Linked DNA regions of Homo sapiens: all the other regions are linked to region 1. Evidence: promoter capture Hi-C in human tissues and cell types (Jung and others, 2019). All regions are on one chromosome and are shown on one strand. Each heading gives the region's core, a stretch centred on a gene start or on the middle of the fragment in contact. The rest is flanking DNA. Distances are from core to core; before and after follow the strand shown. Region 1 holds the start of APPBP2 (amyloid beta precursor protein binding protein 2). Region 2 overlaps USP32 (ubiquitin specific peptidase 32). Region 3 overlaps USP32 (ubiquitin specific peptidase 32).

Region 1 (3,639 bases), core at 793-3,292:
ATTCAAGTATTTTGAACGAATTCAACTAGTAAATACACTTGGATTACATTCCCAATGATTTCCTCTGAGAGATTACATATGAGGTACAAGATTACACATGATTTAATAAAATGGACAGAGAGCACACACAAAGCTGCAGTTTCCCAGGCTGAGAAAGACAAATCTAATTTGTCCTTCCTGGGGAGGAATGTATCTTAAATGAACAAAATTTCCTTAGAATACACAAAAGTAAATCAATGTATCAAAGGGATTAGGAAAAAAGGGAGCTTTTTCTCGAAATCCAAAATAATAATACGCATGACCTAAATGAATCTTCTCCAAATATTTAGGGGGGAAACCCCACTTTAATTGTTAGAATTGGTGCAAAGCAGCTGGATTTAGTAGAACGCAGCCCATCAACTGCTAATTCTGAAAAAAAAAAAAAAAAAAAAAAAAAAATCTAGGGGTGGAGAAAGCAGGCAATCTTCCCAATAAAACAACTGCCACAAAACACTGTACATACGTAAGAACATAAACATCTGTTAAAATATCAGTTTACACTGTTCCAGCCAACTTACAGATCAAGAGGAAGTATTTAAGGTCTAAAAAATAAATTACATTCTACTTTTAGTCACATTTTGCATGGGTGGCTACTGGACACTAGGAGTTATCGACGCGGATTCAAGACAAGGAAGACTGAATAATAAATCCAGTGTTCACATTCAAATGTGGGGGAGAGAAAAGGGCAGGCTCTGAGTCCATAAAGTTCTCCACACTCTGAAAACACTGCAAAAATAGTCCACATCTAAGGACACTTACCCTTGAAACTCCTTGGAGAGTGGCTTGGGAGACTTGCTGTTCAGATTTTTGAGGGGGAGTGATTTAAGAATGCTGCAAGATTGCAACTTTCAAACACAGGAACATAATCTAAAGTGTTTTTTTCTTTCAGTAAAGATCTCTCCCTGTCCTCTTCAAACAGTTGATCAGCACTCCCATTTTCACAAAATCCCTAATTCAAGTATAGAGCCCCTCCTCTCCCACAAAAAAATCAAAGCTTTAAAGAATATGCAAATAAAACACACAGATTATTTCCAATAATCCCTAACTCCTTCCCAATTGGGAAAAGAAAGGAGAAACGAAGGAACACGAAGCAAAAACACCAAAACACTCGGGGAAGGAAGGCGGCGAGATGAGAAAGTAGGAATGGGTGGGGGGAGGAGCACGGAAAAAAGTCCAGCTGATGCTGACACTTAATTGGAAGGAGAGGATGGAAAATATCCTGAAGATACGGGCTAGAAGGAAAGGACTAGGTGGGACAGGGGCGCGATAGAGTAAGTCCACGCAAAAGGCCTACCCAAGAGGGCCACTGTGTAGAAGGGAACACCAACAGGGAGCAAGACTCCCCAAGATTACTTCAAGGCCCCAAAGCTTAAGAGACAGGGCATAGGGAGATGGGGTGCTTCTCCACTGGCAATGCAGACACCGCACCAGACGTTTCGGGAGGCAAGTCTGCCGGAAGGGGTGAGGGGTTAACTGCGGGGGTTCGCAGACGTGGAAGGGGGTGCGGCCCCCGGGGTTGCTGGAGGAGAGCAGAGAGGAGGCCCACGGCGCATACCTTGTAGTAAACATCAAACTGGATGTTCTCGGGCAAGGAGCGGATGTCTCGGCGGGAGCGGATGTAGTTGTCCACGACAGCGGAGATGGCGGTGTTATAGAGAGTCTCTGGGATCCACTCTAGTTCCACGGCCGCCATCTTCCTTCCCTCCTCCTCCGCCTCCTCCGCCTCCTCCTCCCGAAGGCCCCCACCTCCCTCCGTAGCGAACCCCTCTGCGGCCCCGGAGGATTCGGAGGGGCGGTGGCAGCCACGCGGGCGCACGGCAGAAGGCACGGCCGCCCTGCCTCCTCCGGGGGCAAACTGAGGGACGGCGGCAGCGGACGCAGGCCCGAGTAAAAAGTGGGACAGAAAACAGCGGCCAGCCAGGCCAAAAGCGTCACAATCCCGGTTCGAGAGGAACCCGGGTTCCGTCCCAGCGCTGATCTCTGCAGGGGCGGGGCTGCGTGTGCGGCGTCATGACGTAAGCGCACGCCGGCGCGCCGGAGGGGAGGAATGCGGCAGGCGGAAAACTTAGGAAGAGCTGGATGCCTCCCACGGAGAGCGTCCCTTCCAAGCGGCCCCGGAGTGGAGTGGAGTGGAGTGGATAGGGGTAGACTTTTCACACGGGGACAAATTATTACAGGATATCTGCGCCCCCTGTTCCGAGTCACTCGGGGCCATCGGTTACTTCAGCAGGTTCTCTGCATCACGGACCCTTTTGAGGCTCAGGTAAAAGTTTGGATCCTCTCCCCACAAACGAGCAAAATTATCTGTACATTGAAAATTATGCATTGAGAAAATTCACATTACTCTAGAAACCCTTAGACTGCAGTTCCTAACCCAAGTTAAGAACCCGCGGTCCAGGAACTAGGGGTAACGATAGAAGAGAGACTTGTTTTTCTTTGTATAACCATTTGCACCGTTGTAACTTTTTGACCATGTTTCTTTATCCAAATGAAATTTCCGAAAAAAGAAAACTCCTGCCCCAGAACTTCGTAGGAAAACTAGCTTGATTATGGAATTACAAATAATAGTAAGAGAAAAAAGGCTAAGTGGTGGCCGTGATAGGACTTAATGGTATTTCAATTCCCAGAGTTACAGTGGCGGCTTCAAGGGATTGTTGAATAATTGGGAGTACTTGTTTCAGCTTCTTTCCTTCCTCAGCCTGAACATCTGCTGTTTATGTAACTTAATTTCCTAAGTCTGCGATTTCAAGAATTTGATGCAACATCTTTCTGTTCTAGGAATTTACCATGGAAATTATTGGCCATAATTGTTGGTGACACTATCAAACTCATAGTCACTCTATAACGATGTAAGTCCAGAAAACAGCCATAATAATAATGTCCTGATTGATATTTAGAGCTAAAAGAAGTGGAAAGAGTTATTTCAATTTACCCTTCACCTGGTACTTCAGTGTTAAGTGGTTAAATAATTCCACAAAAAATAAACACTCTTAATCTTCTTCAGTCTATATAAATTCTTACTCTATACTGTGAACCTAGGAAAGCTGTGGATGGCCTCAAGATCAGATTGCCAGTTTAGCAAGTAAAAAACTACAAGGCTGGGCGCGGTGGCTCACACCTGTAATCTCAGCACTTGGGAGGCCGAGGCGGGTGGATCACGAGGTCAGGAGATCGAGACCATCCTGGCTAACACGGTGAAACCCCGTCTTTACTAAAAATACAAAAAATTAGCCCGTGGTGGCGGGCGCCTGTAGTCCCAGCTACTCGGGAGGCTGAGGCAGGAGAATGGCGTGAACCCGGGAGGCGGAGCTTGCAGTGAGCCAGGATCGCGCCACTGCACTCCAGCCTGGGCAACAGAGCGAGACTCCGTCTCAAAAAAAAGAAAAAAAAAATTACAAGTGCCCAGTCACATCTTAATGTCAGATAAACAACAAATGGTTTTGAAATGTAAGTATGTTCTGTGCAATAGTTTTGCTCATGCCTTCGGAGCCACTCAAGTGTATCAGTTCATTCAGCAAATCCTTCATCACTTCTTAGACACTGGCGCTTTTGAAGATCAGGATCCCTGCCCCACATAAAAGAATAATTATTATCTCTGCA
Region 2 (3,639 bases), core at 443-2,942, 340 kb before region 1:
TGCTGCATCATCGTTGTTGGAATGAGTAGAAAAAGGGGTGTATCATATACGGTAGTGTTTCCTTTCTCATAGCCAGTTAAATATTATCTCTATTATCTCTACCAGGAATACTTTATGGCCAACCACAAATTAGAGTAAGCTAGTAAAGAATGTTGATTTTTATTGACTATATTTTCTGTGGAACACAGGCTACAGTGCTAGATGAAGACAGGAAAGAAGGCTGATAAAAAACATATTTGTGGACTGTACTGACAATAATTTCTATTTATCAGTAAATTTCCCAAAGTGATAAAGATTCCCTTTACCTCTTGGGATCTACGCTTAGATCCTCTACTATTGTTTAAATAATCTATAAATTACTTATAGGCACCCTCTTCTTTTTCAAAGTTACTTTAAAGCTCATCTTTAACACAAAACACAGGAAATGAAGTAATAGTTTTCATAGAAGACTATTGAAAAAAAGAGAGTGGCCTAAGAATTTGTCTAGCTTAATTTTCTTTTTTTCTTTCTTTTTTTGTTTTTTTGAGACAGGTTCTTGCTCTGTTACCCAGGCTGGAGTGCACTGGCGAGATCACAGCTCACTGCAGCCTTGATCTCTTGGGTTCAAGCAGCCCTCCAACCTCAGCCTCCCAAGTAGCTGGGACTACAGGTGCACACCACCACACCTGGCTAATCTGTGCATTTTTTGTAAAGACAGGGTGACATCATATTGCCCAGGCTGGCATCCAGTTTAATTTTCTACTGAGGAATCTGAGGTCCCAACAGGAGAGAAATGTAAAGGATAAGAGTGATTGCCTCTGTTTTTTTTCTGATTACTAGGTATAATATTCATGTTGGAAAGCAGAGAAAAATGTTAAAAGGCAGGGAATCCTTTTATATTCTTAATTATATTCTTAATACAAAGGCAACCACTGTCAAAATATTGGCAGATTTTCTTCTGTCCTCTTTCCTAAATAGTATTTTTTTCAATATTGAAGGTATTATTTCCAGTATATGCAACTTTATGTCTTGTTTTTTAAAAAATGTTCACATATCATAAGCTTGTTCCCATAAATGTTAGCAAAAACTCCTGGTAATCATTTTCAACAACCGCATTATATTTTATCCAATGAATACACCATGCTTTATTTAACCATTCCTCTAATGTGAGACAAATATAAGTTGTTAATAACTTTTTGCTATTCTAAAAAATGCTATGATGATATTTGCCTGCAAATTATGGAGTAATTACAGAGTATTCTCCCCTCAGATAAATTCCTAAAAGGGAAATCACTGGAATAAAAAATATAAAGTATATGGGCAATAATCCCAATTTAAACCACGGTATCTCTTTTGTCTACATGACTTTCTAAGCACATTCAGAAACCCTACATGTAGGGGAGCCCAGATTAGTCATATGGGCCCACTCCCTAGCAAGGCATCAATAGCCCTTCACTTCCATGGTATCCTAAGTGCATCACTGAAAGTGGAAGTAGGGTGAGATTTAACAGGTCACGTAGGCCGTTTCCTATAAGCAGGATGTCCTAAAGAGCTTTTCCGATTGCACACTGGATTTGTTAAAAAGGGGAAGAGATTTATAGAGCCAAATAATTTGTCATCATTGACAGTAATGTCTTGTCAGATTTTGTGCTGACAAAGATTTATGAATCTATCAACTAGTAAAATTTTCCCTCCTTGCTAGTGAGCATGATCTAGAACATTAGTTTCTCTTCAGCTTTCTTTAGCTTTAGCCTAGTGATCTTTCATTTGACAAGTATCCACAAATTATACTTATTTCTGGCTAGAAAGGGCTCCCAGGAGCCTTGGTGTGTGCGGCATATTTTGGGATCTAAATAAGAAACTAGGTCTAGAATTGGTAGTTTCCCCAGTCCTCCATAGCACAACAAGACAGAAAAGTCAGTTACCGTTACTAACTTATCCAAAGGGAATGCTTTAAAAAATAGTAAAGGAAATTTCCAACTATCAAGAGCCATAAAAATGCAAAAACCACTACAATTCCTCATGTGACTTAAGGAACTCCTTTGACTCTGTTGTTTTTACCTCTCTATCAGATTCTTAATGTCTTTACCATTCAAATAATATTTGGTTGATTAAAAACTGCCTGAGGCAAACATTTTTAGGTATGGAGTTAAAATTATTTCTGAAGCAACATTTTCAAAATTTAAAAATTGCTCTGGCCAGACAGTGACAATAGAAGAATGTGAAGTGCAAAGAGTGGCCACTGAGATGTGCTCTTAGGTACCCAAAATGGAAACATTTCAATCCTTTCTGTAACTTTTCTGATCACTCTGCCTATTAAAGGCAGCAGCTATAGCCCTGGGACACATTTGAACTAAGTAACTGTGGTTACCAAATGCTGCAACTTCAATAATATTTAACAGAGAGATGCTTATTGATATGTCATGGCCAGACACAGTTTTGTTTCAAGGTTCACTTATTAATATTTTTGAAATTTAATGCCTGCTATAGTTTGGACATGGTTTATTTGTCTCCATCAAAATGCATGTTGAAATCTGATTCCCAATGTGGCGTTGTTAGGAGGTGGGGCCTAGCAGGAGGTGTTTGGGTCATAGGGGTGAAACTCTTGTAAATGGTTGGTGCCATTCTTGCAGTAGTTGAGTTCTCCTTCTGAGAACTTAGTTTCCAAGAGAGCGGGCTGTTAGAAAGCGAGGATCTTCCTCCTGTTTGGTCCTCCCTCTTGCCTGTGTCTGTTCTCCTTTGATCTTCTCTGCCATGTTATGATGCAGCACAGAAGCCTTTGCCAGAAGCCAGGACCATGTCCTTGAACTTCCCAGGCTGCCGAACAGTAAGCTAAATAAACCTCTTTTCTTTACAAGTTACCAGCCTCACGTACTCTGTTATAGCAACACAAAATGGACAAAGACAATGCCCCAATACAATGAACTCCAGAAGTTGGAAAATGAAAAAGCTCAAGCAAACATGTCAATATATTAGGTGCCATAGAGGATGCCAATGAAGGTTTTTCTGGTTGTTTTTAAATTGTCTAAAACAGAAATGGCATAATAGTTACACTGGTGGAAATTTCTCATATAAAAACCACCATTTTATGGTGGCCCTAAATACTTACCCTTTCCTGGGATGTTTGATAGCGAAGGTGAAGGGCTGTGGGATCCCAATCCACAGCGATATAGGCATTTCCAATGAAAGCTCTGTCTTCCCCACAATCAATTTTACAGCCTCTGCAAAATCTAAAAAGGGGGAAAAGATCCACAGAGGAAGAAATAATTATGAAGGAATCTAAATTTTCTTAATAAAAAATATTCTCCCTTCCTACTTTTCTGCTTTCCTCTTGGGCCTCACAATTTGTCATGGGCTTCTAACTTCAGACTCTGATAAATGTAGGGATACTTATTAATAATTAGTACAGTTTCAGGGAATCATGCTTTTCATTTTTCAAGTCTTTATTTTTACAAAGTACTTGATAACCACCTGTTAATCACAGGAAGATGTGAACTTTATGGCAAATAAATGACATGGGAATTGCCTGTTTGAGATACTACAGCACTCAAGAAATTCCAAATTCAGTTATTGAATGCTCTGAGGTAGGACAATTTATCTGGTGTAACACCTAGCTCCTTGTCTGTAAAATGGCAGATTAAATAAATGCATATAAAAGTT
Region 3 (3,639 bases), core at 393-2,892, 300 kb before region 1:
AATTTTCCATAAACATAAATGCCTTATTATTTAAATCAATTCAACTTTTTTTTTTCACTTATGCTTTTTGATTTTTTTAGTCTGGAGTATAGCAAAGGCTCTTTTTTTAATACAGGGTCTTGCTCAGTCGCCTATAGCTCACTATACCCTTGAACTCCTGAGCTCAAGTGATCCTTCCACCTCAGCTAGGACCACAGGCATGCATCACCATGCCCAACTAATTTTTAAAGTTTTCATAGAGATGGGGTCTCAATATGTTACCCAGACTGGTCTCAAACTCCTGGAGGATCCAAACAATCCTCCTGCCTTGGCCTCCCAAAGTACTAGGATTACAGGCATGAGTCACCCGGCCAAAGGCATTTTTTCATTTTTAAAGTTCTCTATGTGATCTCACTACATATGCAGCCAGAATTAATAACTATTGCCCTAGTGAGGATTATAGTCTCATGCATTTGTTTTTATAATGTGCTCCAGATGTTAAGAGCTTAGAAATTGACTTGTTATTAAATCTGCTACCTGCTCTGGAACTTGTGTTTTAGAAGAAGATTTAGATTTATTTAGTTTTCAGGTCATTTGCTTCCTGCCCATAAAGATGGAGCAAGACAGACAGCAAAACCATTTTGAAAGAGTAACAGCGCCACCTTTGAGAAAAATTAAAGTCTTCCAAGTCACTTTGTTTTCCTCCAGAAAAATCACTTTAGTTTTGCTATAAGTGATCTTAAATGATGTTTCAATAACCATCACATTTTTGGCAAGGTAATCCGTTTATAAATTTATACTCACTTCTATATTCCATTTATATAAAGTTGATGCATTACAAATTACTTTTTTTTTCCTTCTTTTTTTGAGACAGAGTCTCGCTTTGTTGCCCAGGCTGGAGTGCAGTGGTGCAATGTTGGGTCACTGCAACCTCTGCCTCCTGGGTTCAAGCAATTCTCCTGCCTCAGCCTCCGGAGTAGCTGGGATTACAGGCACGCACCACTGCGCCTGGCTAATTTTTGTATTTCTGGTGGAGACAGGGTTTCGCCACGTTGGCCAGGCTGGTCTTGAACCCCTGACCTCAGGTGATCCACCTGCCTTGGCCTCCCAAAGTGCTGGGGTTACAGGCGTGAGTCACTGCGCCCGACCACAAATTACTTTCTAAAAAATTTGTAGTAATATATTTTGAGGAAGATTGGGTCTATTTGAGCAAACAATTTTCTTCAAGTTTTCCTCTAAGATGGGCATGTAAGAGAATTTCAAGGAGTAATATTTGGAATTGTATCTTAAATGTTTTAACATGTTTGAAAGTCTTACATGGTGCCTATGTTTCTAAAGAAAATGTAAATGAAACCATTCCTGTAATAATGCTTCTCATTCTGAAGAGCTCAGTCCATAGGTTAAATCTATATATATCACTGGCAAGAAAACAGGATAATAAAAATATTACCAGGCATTAAATTTGCTAGGCTAAATTTTATAATAATTTGTGAACAGGATGATTCTAATAACTTCTCAGAGATTGCAACATTTGCCTCTAGCAACTGCGGTTCTACCACATGCTTTTAACATGGTACAGTGAGTAATAACCTTTAGACTTGGAGAATATGGGCTTTTCTTTGCTTCTCTTCCAATGCTCCAAACAAACTAGACTGGTCTGTCTTCTCATTGTCTTCGGCTTTCTTTTCTATTACAGGAACCTGATGCTCTCACTGTTCTCCACTGCCTGAAACTGTCAGCACAACTCAGGTTCCTTCTTCCCCTTCCTACACGCTTATTTTTCTTGTTCCTTCTACCCTTCTTGGCTTTCAGTGAAATAGCTACCTTTTCATCCGATTAATCTTATTACCACTTTCCTTCTATAAGATGAACAAACCAATCACAGTTATATATTGCAGAATCTTAGAGTCACTAGCTTTTTTTGACTGTTCATTTCTGGCTGCTTGCGGAAATTTTTGTTTTTCTAAAACATCAAAGGATCATGTTTTGTTTTTATTGACTTCAGGGGTCTGGAACTATTCAAAATTATCCTAGAACCCTGGTTTTCAGAAGATAGATTTCTAAATAGGTAAAGTTTCACCTGTAGAGAGAAATGTCCTCATTTTCTGAGTCAACAATTCACAAAAGGACTAGGTACTTATTTTAATATAAGAGAATTTTATTTTGAGATTTTAGGATTCCCTGTGAGTTGTATAAATAGTTTATGTGTTCTAAAATATGGGTCAAGATTCACCTTTTTCTCTATTGATGATACTACTACTTTTTATGCCCTGTACATAGGTATGTTACAAGAATCAATTAACAGTTATGTCAATTTCATATTTCACTAGTGACTGAAATGCTAGCTTTGGAAAAATAGAGGGCAGCATGGAGCAACAGATTAGGTACTAAGGCAGGACTCAGGACACTGAGCTCTAGAGTGCTAGATAAAGTAATAAAATAATTGTCTGATACAGCTTTGGGCAATTATAAAACCTAAGGACCTCAGAGGCTTCATTTGTAAATTCAGAGAAGAGAGGTGTTTCATTCCTTTTATTTCCCACTCAACTACACATGTCTGAGGCAGGAAAACAAGGCTGCCCCACTCGTGGCAGTCCTGACGACGATCCTCGAGGGCTGCTCTTGGCCTCCAGCCTTGGCTAAGGAGAACAGGGACCCCCCAAAGCCCATGGGAGAGAGGCACGAAAGGTGATTTAAAGTATCTTCTAGCTCTAAAGTTACGTGATAACTAAATAGGAAAATCTGCATGTGAATAGTAATAGCTGCTCCTTCATAGTTCTCAAAAAGGAAGATACACATTATGTAATGTAATAATGATAGAAAAGATTTCACCATTCTTCCCCATTTACATTTTTTTAGGAGATTACACATAGAAGAATAAAGCTTGACACATTAAAGCGGGGAAAGACTGGTAAGATTCCATGAGCAGAGACACAATCAAATTATTCATGCTCCAGTGAATCAGCAAATCTGGGGTTAGCCACTTCTAAGAAAGGATGGCTCATTTTTCCTGATCCCTTGGTCTCTGATCTTTCCATTTAGTCTTGCCAGTATTTGAAACATACTACCCTCACAATTAGTAATATTCGTAAGTAAATATGTCATTTTATGAAGAGAAAAAATTAAAGCTAAGTACTCTCTTAGGTAGGCAGATGAAGCTCTAAGATCAAATTATCTGACATGTCAACACTAATTTTCTTTTTCTTTTTTTTTTTTTTTTTTTTTTGAGATGGAGTCTCACTCTGTCATCCAGGATGGTGTGCAGTGGCATGATCTCGGCTCACTGCAACCTCTGCTTCTTGGGTTTAAGCGATTCTCCTGCCTCAGCCTCCCAAGTAGCTGGAACTGCAGGCACACGCCACCACGCCAGGCTAATTTTTATATTTTTAGTAGAGTCGGGGTTTCACCATGTTGGCCAGGCTGGTCTGGAACTCCTGGTCTCAAGTGATCTGCCTGCCTCAGCCTCCCAAAGAGCTGGGATTGCAGGTGTGAGCCATTGCACCTGGCCCAAATTTTTTTTTTTTTTTTTTTTAAACAAGGCGTTTGTCAAAGTGGCCACATGGACTGGAAAGAGAAATTTGATTTTTTTTTTTTTTTTTTTAAATACAGTCTCATTCTGTTGCCCAGGCTGGAGTGCAGTGGCATCATCTTGGCTCTCTA

What was found. Contacts are between HindIII fragments. The study calls those that stand out against the background at their distance.
Region 2: a contact is called between a fragment that was not itself captured here and the fragment with the promoter of APPBP2 in region 1, in 3 of the 25 tissues and cell types used here (IMR-90 fibroblasts, bladder and lymphoblastoid cells).
Region 3: a fragment that was not itself captured here is called in contact with the fragment with the promoter of APPBP2 in region 1 in 1 of the 25 tissues and cell types used here (hippocampus).

What each region holds. Positions count from the first base shown.
Region 1 is chr17:60,524,200-60,527,838 of GRCh38, forward strand. It overlaps APPBP2 (amyloid beta precursor protein binding protein 2), which reads right to left and starts at 2,043. Exons shown (of 13, transcript NM_006380.5): 1 at 1,595-2,043. The coding sequence starts at 1,732. RefSeq lists enhancers at 954-1,662, 1,383-1,652 and a silencer at 1,733-1,872. The HindIII fragment of the contact is 9,879 bases long and covers 1,221-3,639 here.
Region 2 is chr17:60,187,475-60,191,113 of GRCh38, forward strand. It overlaps USP32 (ubiquitin specific peptidase 32), which reads right to left. Exons shown (of 34, transcript NM_032582.4): 29 at 3,089-3,209. Among named protein-coding and RNA genes, the nearest start is that of CA4, 39 kb to the left of the region's middle. The HindIII fragment of the contact is 9,453 bases long and covers 1-3,639 here.
Region 3 is chr17:60,228,986-60,232,624 of GRCh38, forward strand. The region is part of intron 12 of USP32 (ubiquitin specific peptidase 32); the gene reads right to left. It also overlaps SCARNA20. Among named protein-coding and RNA genes, the nearest start is that of CA4, 81 kb to the left of the region's middle. The HindIII fragment of the contact is 6,309 bases long and covers 1-3,639 here.